Regions from separate parts of the Homo sapiens genome. Here all the other regions are linked to region 3. Evidence: promoter capture Hi-C in 16 types of primary human blood cells and fetal thymus (Javierre and others, 2016). All regions are on one chromosome and are shown on one strand. Each heading gives the region's core, a stretch centred on a gene start or on the middle of the fragment in contact. The rest is flanking DNA. Distances are from core to core; before and after follow the strand shown.

Region 1 (3,216 bases), core at 650-3,149, 360 kb before region 3:
ATATGCCAAATTATATTCTATAGTCATAAGTGCTATTAATAAATACATTTGATTCATGCTACAAGAGAAAGAATTGAGACAATTTCACATTTCAGAATTCCTGAGTCTTATCAGAGAAAAACAAGTACTGAAAAAACAAACACAATAAACCTACTTAAAGTAGGGCAAATAACAAAATTTGGGCATATTTATAGTTTTAAAGCTGAAGACTATGGGAACAATATATATGTACTTCATGAAATTATAAACATGTTTTTAAAGCTTGGTTTTTAAAAAAGGCGTTTTGATCAAACAAGGCCACCTGAGTGACATCTTCAATGATGGTAAGCCCACCATTTTAAAGGAATAACATCTTTATTTAAAAGCCTAATTATTAATATAAAAAGGAAAAGAGTTTATTTTAACAAAATGTTTTAGTAAGATTGCAATGGGACAGCCCTTTGATGAAAAATCTAAGGAGGGTAAAGCCAATGTAACTGAATTAGAACAAGAGTTCCAATTTTGAGCTACCATCCACCAAATAATTTCCCTTTTGCTTTGCATATTACACAGTGAAAATAAACAGTTATATTAAGAGCACTTCAGTCCCACAAGGTAGGATTTAAGCTTTGTGAATAGGTGTAAATGGCCCTGTAACAATATGATGCCTGCAAAAATACATTCAACTGAAAATTAATGTCTGTTCTTTAACTAGTAAGGAAACGGGAAGCTAAGTGGTCCCACTTAAACAATAAAACAAAACAAAACAAAAACCACTGTTTATCCTTTCTGGAAAGACTACCAAAGCAAAGAACATCCAATAATATTATAAATTTAAAACTGCATACTTTTACTCATCTTTACAAGTAGGAAAGATGCATACAAACTACTCATGGGCTTTATAAATAAAGACACTAAGCAGAAATAATATTTGGGTTATTTCTCTGTTCGTAAATACACAGAAATAAAACAATTAAAAAACACTAAAGTGCAGACCTATAGGCCAATACAGGCATGATAAAGAGGTGCAGCCAAATTTGCATCTACATTTACACTTACATACCCAGAAAATGATTCTTGCTTTAAAAAAAAAAAATTGTGCAATTTAAAAACTAGTCAGTTTTGTTTGTGCTGTAATACAATTAGAACTTGTCTCTGCCCACTAGTGAAGTGACTGCTAGACCTTAGATAGCACACTAGGCTCTTGACAATCACGTATCTCATTAGAATCATACAACATTGATTCCACCTCCAGAAAATGTTAGGGTCCTCTTGTTGTAGAATGAAGAGCCACTGGTATTTGGTTGATTGCCTTTAACCAGAGAAGATTTCAGTTCCATTTCACAAGCTACAATAGCTGCATTCAATTCCACTTGAGCTCGATGAACTACATAAAACATGAGGCCTATACTTATAATAATCTGTGAATAAAAATAAAACATTACAGTTATCAATATTTTATACAAAAAAAAGAAATAAATCCAATAAATATTTGGCTTAGAAATGCTTCAAACAGGGTGCTTCTCAAAGATGGTAGGTAAAGGGTTATACATTTTTAAATAGTTTACACACAGTTATTGTTTATTCTTTCCTTTGCTGCTTCTCCTGGTAGTGGAGGACCAAAGTCTACAGGTAACCATGACATGGTATTAGGAAAACACACATTCCTTTTGGTTCACTTGATACAAGCCAAACCTGTCTCTTTGTACCAAAAAGCTTTCTTCAAGGAATAAAAAATGTCTACAATAGAGGTAACAGCTGGCTAAACTTTGTTGGTATAATTAATGTAGTATTATACCTTTGCATGACTATAAATGTCCATAGGTATTTCTAAGCCCACTTAGTGAGAAGCACTACTATTTGCAATGAACTACCTGGTGAAGACAAAATTAAAAGTATTACAGACCACTTAAAAAAATGAAATGCCAATAAACTTCCAAAGAATTAACAAGAGATTGTGAACAAGTAATTGCCTGTACTTAGGAAAAAACAAAATCAGAGGAAAACATGATGATTATTTAAAAATGTTAGTCAAAGGGATACTAGAAAAATCATCACACTGATCAAATTGAAAGTCAGGTTTCTAGTCTTAGCTTAGCTATTCACTAGTGATGTGTGATTTAGGGAAGCTTCAGTTTCTCATTGTCCTATAGGAAGCTGTGGTCCCTCTGTACTTTTTTTTTCTTTCTTTTTTTTTTTTTTTTTTTGAGATGGAGTCTCGCTCTGTCGCCCAGGCTGCAGTGCAGTGGCACAATCTCGGCTCACTGCAACTTATGCCTCCCGGGTTCAAGTGATTCTCCTGCCTCAGCCTCCTGAGTAGCTGGGATTACATGCATGCGCCCCACGCCTGGCTAATTTTTGTATTTTTAGTAGAGACGGGATTTTACCATGTTGGCCAGGCTGGTCTCAAACTCCTGACCTCATGATCTGCCTGCCTCAGCCTCCCAAAGTGCTGGGATTACAGGCATGAGCCACAGTGCCCGGCCAACTTTAGCATTCTATGTACAGCTCCTCAGAATGTCTAAGCAGTGTACATTTTCTAAATGAGTTTTATTCCAAAGTTCATTTGTAAATCAGTTCTTTAGGATTTGGAGCAAACACAGCAGGTGTTATTTAATGTCCCAGCAAGTTTACAAAGGCTGCTGTAACCAAAAGTGATACGGAAATATAATACAATTTCAATGAAATCTACCCATAATTATAACATAAGCTTTAAAGGGAAAGTATTCTAAATCCAAGTGCTGAGGGTGGTTGGGGGAGGAGATAACAGAAGCAGAGCATACTGGGGGTATGGTAAGTGTGAGAGGGGAGGAACTTGGAACTTGCACAAGGGGGTGCCATTAAATGAGTACCCATCACTCAGTAAAATCGTAAATAAGTTAGGCATCTTAAAGCTGGGTCTTTAAATTCTGTAACTGTTTTCTGTTACTTCTCTTAAAAGAAACAAGATATATTTACCGAAAACTCCTAAGTTTGCTATGTATCAACAAATGGAAACACCATGTAAAGAGATGAAAAAAATATGGGGGCGGGGGCGGGTGCTTTGTGAATTAGATGCTACCTTCTGTTTAAGACATGCTGAATTCGAGGTGCCTCTTAGATATCCAAAAAAGTTCATGGATGTCAGTGAAGGGGTCTGAAGCTATGGAAAGAGGGCTGAGCTAAAGACAAGTGCTGGGGAGTAGGATGAGGGCAGGCGGAGGGTCTTGACCCAAATACACATATTAGCAACCATCA
Region 2 (3,581 bases), core at 1,041-3,540, 340 kb before region 3:
TGGAAGAATCAATCTTAGCTTGTATGCCATACAAAATTGGGCTGTGGTTTTCTGACCCCTGCTCTAACATCTGGGATGATACCTAAGTCAACTGTATAGAACCTTACCCAGTCCTCCATAATGTCTGATCTTTAAGGTGCTCTAAGACAAGTATTCTATAACTGGAATCAGGATGTGTCTGGGAAATCCAGCTCTTCTTGGACCAACACTAGTGCCTGGATAAGTTAATGACTCTAAACATTTACTAACTGTGTAATCTTGAGCAAGTTATTTCACCACTGTGCCTCAACTGCTTCAGCTATAAGATGAGGATCAGGGCTGAAATGAACAGTAAATAAGTTATGTGTGCATGATTAAACAGTGCCCAGGAATTAGTTAAGTACAATGTAGGTATTTGTTAAATTTTTTTAAAAAGTAGCTCAACTTCACTGTCCTTATTTTGGAAGGCAGAGGATGGTGAGAAAGAAATAGTAAATAATGAGCAAACTATATATTTTATCACAGCTTTGCAGCAGGTATTATTAAACACATCCCACAACAGAAAGTATAGCTCAAAAGAGTAACTATAACTACTTCAAGATGACACTGTAAATGTTGGAACCAATCTCATTTCAAGTTTCTACCATGCATGGGAGAAGGGGAAAAAATGGTTCAGAGGAGATAAGCAAGGGAAAGCACCTTTCCTTCTTCCATATATTATCCTTTACAATCAGCTCCTGCTTCTAAAATGTGAATACAACTACCTCCACCACTACAAACAATAATGACACTTAACAATTACTGGGAAGTGACTATGAGCCAGACAAAATACTTAATGCCTTCACTGTATCAGCTTTTTTAAGCCTCATAACTACTTTATTTTACAGATGAGGAAATGGAGAAGGCCAGATGGCACAGACTAATTCAGGATCATCTATTTCCAAAGCCTGGGCCTCACATGACCACTACACCTAACTTCTTTGAGGTACGCCCAGATGAATTTCTCTAATTATGGGCACACAAAAAAAATGAGTTTTAACTGGAATTTTTTTCTTTAAAAAAAAAAGGATGATTTCAAAGATAGGGAGGGATGTGGAAAACACAAGAAATATGCCTAGAAAAGGGGGCAGCTATGGTCAGCAGGAGGGGTATGAGGTGGAGAGGATACATGAGGAGGCAGAATGGAGTTCTAGAAGGCAGAAAGTCAAGTCAGACTAAAACCAACATCAGCCTTAACTAAGCTTTCTTTTCTTTCACATATCTTGGCTGAATTCAGTAAACTGTTTTTGTTGAAAGGACTACTTCTGTAAGCAGGCAGTTCAGAACAATAGGTATAAACAGGACATAACAGACCATATCCAGGGGCTTCACAGTCCACCCTGCTATGGCTGAGTCAAAATTTTACAGTAAGATGCACCATATCAGCTGATCCTGGGTTCAAACCCTAGCTCAGCCACTTGGTAGGTGGGTGACTGAAGAAGTTCCTGGATGGTTGAGCCTCTGTTTCTTCTCAGTGAAATGGTGACAATAATACCTATTGCAAGAGGCCATTTTTCTTTTTTTTCCCTTCTTTTTTATTGACCACACAATGCTAAATTGAGATTTGTCCCTTGTCAAGCTCAGTTTCAACTACATGATTACCTTAAATTATTACCAAGCACAAAATACAACCTCTTAGTTATATACTTAATATGTAAGAGACAAAATCAAAAGAAAAGCCTACCTTATTGTCAGTCGATAAATACATAATGAGCCCTTACTATTTACCCATGACTACACCAGGCATTAAATATATATTCAAGAAATAAAGAGGTGGTTGGTTGAGACACTGCCATCAGACCATGGTTCAAAGTTTGACTCTACCATTAATTTAGTACCTTGGTGACCTTGGGTCATAACAACAGAAACGACAAAAGCCAACACGTGTTTGTTAAGCCAGGCTCTGCTGCATGTATTCATCTCATGTAATCTTCTCAATAATCCTATGGAAGTAGGTATCATTACTTTCCTCATTTTACAAATAAGAAACTGAAGCCCAGAGAGAATAAACAACTTGCCCAAGGTCACTAGATTCTAAGCAGACAGCAGGATTTCACAACACCAGCCCTGTGCTCCCAACTAGTAGACACTAGTCTATAATATGTGCATAATTAACTTCTGCAGGGCTGGTTTAAGGATCAGAAATATGTGGAAAGAGCCGAGGACAGTAGTTGGCACACGGTAGATGGACAAGAAAAGGCCCAAGGATACATGCTATATTGAAACACAAACTAACAGAATCAATCTATTTAGGTTCCTTAGCCCAACCTTCTTTCAAAGTCCTGGGACAGTTTATTTATTATTACCCAAGACTGGGTCAAAGTTCAAGTTTATATTTCATACTATAGGAGGGTATGAAAAAGAAATTTAAGACTAAGACTATACCAAACTACTGCTAACACTAAACTTTATCTCTACAGAAAACCCCTTATCTGTTTCCACTGCCTCTACCAAATACCATTCCATAGTCATTGCTGCTGTTGCTTGGAATCAAGAGGTTTGCAAAAGGCATTTAAAAGAAAAGAAAAAAGAGAAAGGTTTTAATTTCATCACAAAGAGGCAGATTGGTTAGTATTATTCCTAATTCAAAACAAAATGAGAAAGTTTCCAGAAACTAACAATAATTTACGTTTTGAAACAAAATAATGCATCAGAATCACTTAAAATACATCAATTCCTATGGTTTTGAATGCAATTATCTCTTTATTTCAGTAAGTTTTCTTTAAGTCTAGCTGAAGGGTTAAGTTCCTGGGAATCTACATAAACTCTTGGTAGTTTAGAATCACTGAATTTGGGGAACATGGTAATCTACTTTTTTAAGTCCTTCACTTTCGAAAAGAGAAAAGTGAAGCCAGACAGGGTCAGTAACTTGATCCAAAGTCACAAAGTTTGTAAAGACCAGATTCCTTTCTTCCAATAAGATGATCTCTTCACTAGCAGTGTTTCTATCCTAAATCAGTTGCATGGAGATGCACACTAGCTATAGAAACCTGAGTAAGCAAAACATATGAATACAAGGACAGAAAAGAGTCTATAATGGTGCAGATACAGAAGAAAAATATATGCTAACTGAGCAAAAGATTATCTGTTCTGTTTTATTCACCACCCCGTGATTTCGAAATGAAGTTCCTCCAAAGAAAGAAAGATAAACAGTAGGATTTTCTTCTTTACATCACATTAAAGCACAATTACTTGAAGAAGAAAAAGCCCATTTCAAATTTAGCAAACTCCAAAATCTGGAGTCTGCAACTAGCTCCTCCACTGTTTACTGAAACACTTCCTTTGGTCCATGTCGCTAAAAACTTGAATCAAAACCCTGGATGTATTTATGTAAGCAAGAGAGAAAGCTTTCCTCCCTAAATGTTGCCAAAGCTGCTACAAAAGATGACAAGTATTAAAGATGGGCATTTCCATTCATGTCCCTGCATGCCTATTGTTAAGAGGGCTTTTCATTTTTAATTACATTCCCATCCCTAAAAGAAACATTAGTTTTTTATCTAACAAACTCTCTTTCGAGGCTCCGCGTTAGGTATGTTTTATGTGTAGGACAGACTTCCCAGGCT
Region 3 (3,611 bases), core at 843-3,342:
AATAAACAGAATTCTGCCTACAACATTGGGTAGCAAGTAGTGGGCCTATCATAAGGTTGTAAAATGTAAATTTAAAAATGTAAATGTATAGTTTTGTGGTATAAATGTTTTTTAAAGGATATTTTGATCCAATGTCTCCAAAAAAACTTTCTATTAATACATACTGAGAAATGGTTGCTGAATAGTTTTTTTCAAGATCACACACACTTAACAAATCATCTTTAAAGACCAAGTTGTATGAATAGAATATTGGTAAATCAGTTAGTTATTTACAGTTGCTATTCTACACCTGGCAATACTAACTATATCTTAGGTTCCTTTTCTTTTTAAAAAATTTACCTAAGTATGAATCTTCAGGCCTTATCAGTCCTGATATTACCAGTAAACCTAGAATTGTCTAAAATACAATGGGATAATAAGCAGATACATTGACCACTTTGGCCAAAATCTTATTAATCTTATTTTTTAATTAAGATGCCTTTTTAAGGTCCTACTACATACTAAATATAATTTCATTTAATTTTGAGCCATATATGAACGGTGGAAGAAAATTATTATTAGTCCCACTTCACAGATAAGAAACCTGAGGCTCAGAAAAATAAGAGACATGCCCAAGTCCACATAGCTACTAAGTGCTAGATATTAGGATTTGACTACAAAGTTCACACCTTTATATCAAAACTTGCCTATTTGTTACATAAAAGAAAGATATCTGACTGTCCATTTATTACATGTGGACACTGCGTGTATAGATTTAAAAATTAATGTGAAAAGTAACATTTATTTATAAGGCCATGCAGAATAAATTGGTATATGCTAATAATATCCATTTCTTCAATTTACCATTTTTCTTAGAATACTAAATAAATTAGGGAGTACTGTGCTTTCCTCACGCTACAGACATGGTATACTGCCATACTAACCATAGATCACAGCATATGAAATATACTATGCACTGTTTTTAGAAGCTGAGTACTATACTTAAACTCCAATATAAATTCTAGTCTTCTTTGGAAAGTACTGATGCTACCGCTGCCGTTGAGAAATAAGATCATATAAAGTGAAATAATGAAATGAAAAGACCATATTTGAATTTACCTTGTGTATAATTCCCATATGATAACCAGATAAAATTTCATCTCAATTTCCAACTTCAAAACATTACAAAGTTAGGATTCCTTGAAACCCAATACTGCTTGTAAGTAAACTGCTCACACTGACAAAATGATAGATGAAGAGAAACATACAGGAAACATCGGGGAGTAAGAAATAAACCACCTATGACTCAAGTGGTGAAAGACATTTCACGTTCCATATATCTGGTTGCACTATTAAGGAAAAATTAAAACGAAAATATCAAAAAACTAGAAGCTTGGAGAGTTCCAACATATCTTCCATTTCATGCCTTCTCTTTATAACTAATTTAATTTTTTTTTTGGTCTATTTGAGGGATTTCTCAAAACAAAACACAATTTAACATTCGGATGGGCTAAAGCTGTCCAGGTAATAGGTGTCTGTGATTACTTTAGTCATGTAACTGTCCTTTCCGTAGCTTTGACTAAAACACCAGCAATGAAAACCTTGTGCCACCGGGTGGAGGGGGCAAATCGTCTTGAAAGCCTCCCACCGCCTGGCACCAGGTGCTGGGGCAGAGCCAAGGGGAGCTGTGTACTTAGCTCCTTTTTTGGCGATGGCTTTGGTCTCGGCCACTTGCCCCTCCGTCGGGCTCCCCTGGCCCCCTACACTTTCTTTCCCCTCATCCGACGCTCTCGCTCCCATCCCACTCCCATTCAGGGTCCACAGGGTACTGAAGGGGCCCTGAGAGATTTCCCGACCCACCTCAGAGCTTCTCTTCCTCGCCTCAACTTTCCCGGGGTCGGGCCTGGGAGACGGCGCCCACCCGCCTCCTCCACACCACGGGGCCCGACTTCCGTCCCCCAGTGTCGCTCATCCTCCCTAGCCACTTACCGACTCAAAATCCACGGGGATTTCGGGGCAGCAGCGTCGCCGCGCTCAGCCCACACGCGGAGGCCGAGCGCCCTGCTGCCCGTCGGGGAACGGCTCCTGCCGCTGGTCCGCTGGCTGACCGCGGTGGCGGCGGCGGGGGGCGAGGGGCGGGGGGCGAGGGGCGGGGGGCGGGGCGGGAGGCGGCTCCGAGGGGCACGAGGCGGGCCCAGGGCGGGCGCGGGGCGTGGCCTCGGGCGCTGAGCCTCGAGAGCAGCCGCACCCCTGCCGGGGTAGAACCGTTAAAAGGGTGGCGCGCGCTTTCCCGGGCGAGCTGGGCGCGTGGGGTTGGAGCGGCGCCACCCAGAGCCGGTCGTCTAGGGTAGGAGGCCGCGAGTGAGGCGCTGACAGGCTAGCCCTCGACGGGGCGCGCCCGCGTGAACGGCCTTGGGGGCCCCAGACCGTGGCCCTGCTTGTGCGAAGACTGGGAGGCGCCAGGCGGGCCGCCTGCTGGGGGCTTGGCGGCGGGTTCCAGGCAGCGTCTGTGAGGGAGGCCGCCTCTGTGAGGGAGGCCGCCGTCGTGCTGACGACTGAGTCCACCCTACTCCTGTCCCCCGTCAGAGCTGCTGGCAGGCGCTGCTTTCCCCTTGGTGCATTTAGTGGGTGTCGGGATTCGGGTTGGCAGGGAGGAAGATGTTTGAGACCTGGTTTACCTCAGACCAGGGATACAGCGTTTCACACAGACTGCCATCCTGAAAGGAACAAAATGAATTAAGGCAACTCCATCCGAATCATTTCTTTTTAATCTTCACCTTCAATCCTTTTGCTAATTTTTCATTATCTTTGAGTGTCCCCAGAGGGGGACTGTCTGCTTGTACTGAGGGACGTGGAGGTGGCAGTCCCTCACGTCCCCAAGCACCAAAAGGACAGTTGAAAATGCACTGGCAAACACTGAACGGTTTTAAGTGGGGCACTATCAGGATTTACCATTTTGGAAGGTATGAAGTTTCACAAGCACTTCCATGTATAGTCAAGTTATTGGAGCTGTCTCCGTTTAGAAATGGCTTCCAGAAACACTCCTACTATCCACTGAGACAACTCGCCTGGCATCAGAGACCTAGGGTCCAGGGTCAGAGATGGGTCATGATAAAAGGGCATCCCTTGGGGTGAGGCACCAGAAGTCTGCACAGTGGAATCAATATATTCCAACCACCAGATGTAGAAAATCTTAAGTGCAGGATGTGGTTCTCATCCATCTAGTCACAACAGAAGTTTTCTTCTTCAGGAATATACTTAACAATGAAGCATGTATAATTTTATATACATCTTACAATAAAATTATTTTGTGCATATCACTGTATGAAGTCAGTAGAAACTATTGTGACAAAAATGTAAATTGGAAGAATTCCAATTCAGATCAGTATTAGTAATTTATTGAGAGGAAGAGAGAAATTAGACTAGACAGACTCCTTGATTTTTTGATAATTGAGGAAGAAAAATGAACCATATAAACATATCGAAACTTTTCAAAATCTTATTGATAATGACATAAAATTTTGGCATCTACAAGGATAATCTAGAATTCATACCTTTACAACAAGAACTTGACAACAAACAGGTTAATGACTTTTAGCAACTTAAAGGTTAGTCACTGCCTGAGAAAACTT

Evidence for each region. Contacts are between HindIII fragments. The CHiCAGO score rates a contact against its expected background, and 5 or more counts as called.
Region 1: a contact is called between a fragment that was not itself captured here and the fragment with the promoter of C8orf88 in region 3, in 4 of 17 cell types (naive B cells, total B cells, total CD8 T cells and 1 more). The highest score is 8.8, in naive B cells.
Region 2: a contact is called between a fragment that was not itself captured here and the fragment with the promoter of C8orf88 in region 3, in 6 of 17 cell types (fetal thymus, megakaryocytes, erythroblasts and 3 more). The highest score is 11.0, in fetal thymus.

The regions. Positions count from the first base shown.
Region 1 is chr8:90,624,463-90,627,678 of GRCh38, forward strand. TMEM64 (transmembrane protein 64) reads right to left here. Exons shown (of 3, transcript NM_001008495.4): 3 at 1-1,400. The coding sequence ends at 1,209. Among named protein-coding and RNA genes, the nearest start is that of LINC01030, 20 kb to the left of the region's middle. The HindIII fragment of the contact is 413 bases long and covers 1,694-2,106 here.
Region 2 is chr8:90,641,390-90,644,970 of GRCh38, forward strand. The region is part of intron 1 of TMEM64 (transmembrane protein 64); the gene reads right to left. Among named protein-coding and RNA genes, the nearest start is that of TMEM64, 2.9 kb to the right of the region's middle. The HindIII fragment of the contact is 2,145 bases long and covers 1,219-3,363 here.
Region 3 is chr8:90,983,146-90,986,756 of GRCh38, forward strand. It overlaps C8orf88 (chromosome 8 open reading frame 88), which reads right to left and starts at 2,093. Exons shown (of 6, transcript NM_001190972.2): 1 at 1,969-2,093. RefSeq lists a silencer at 2,117-2,276. The HindIII fragment of the contact is 2,363 bases long and covers 1,370-3,611 here.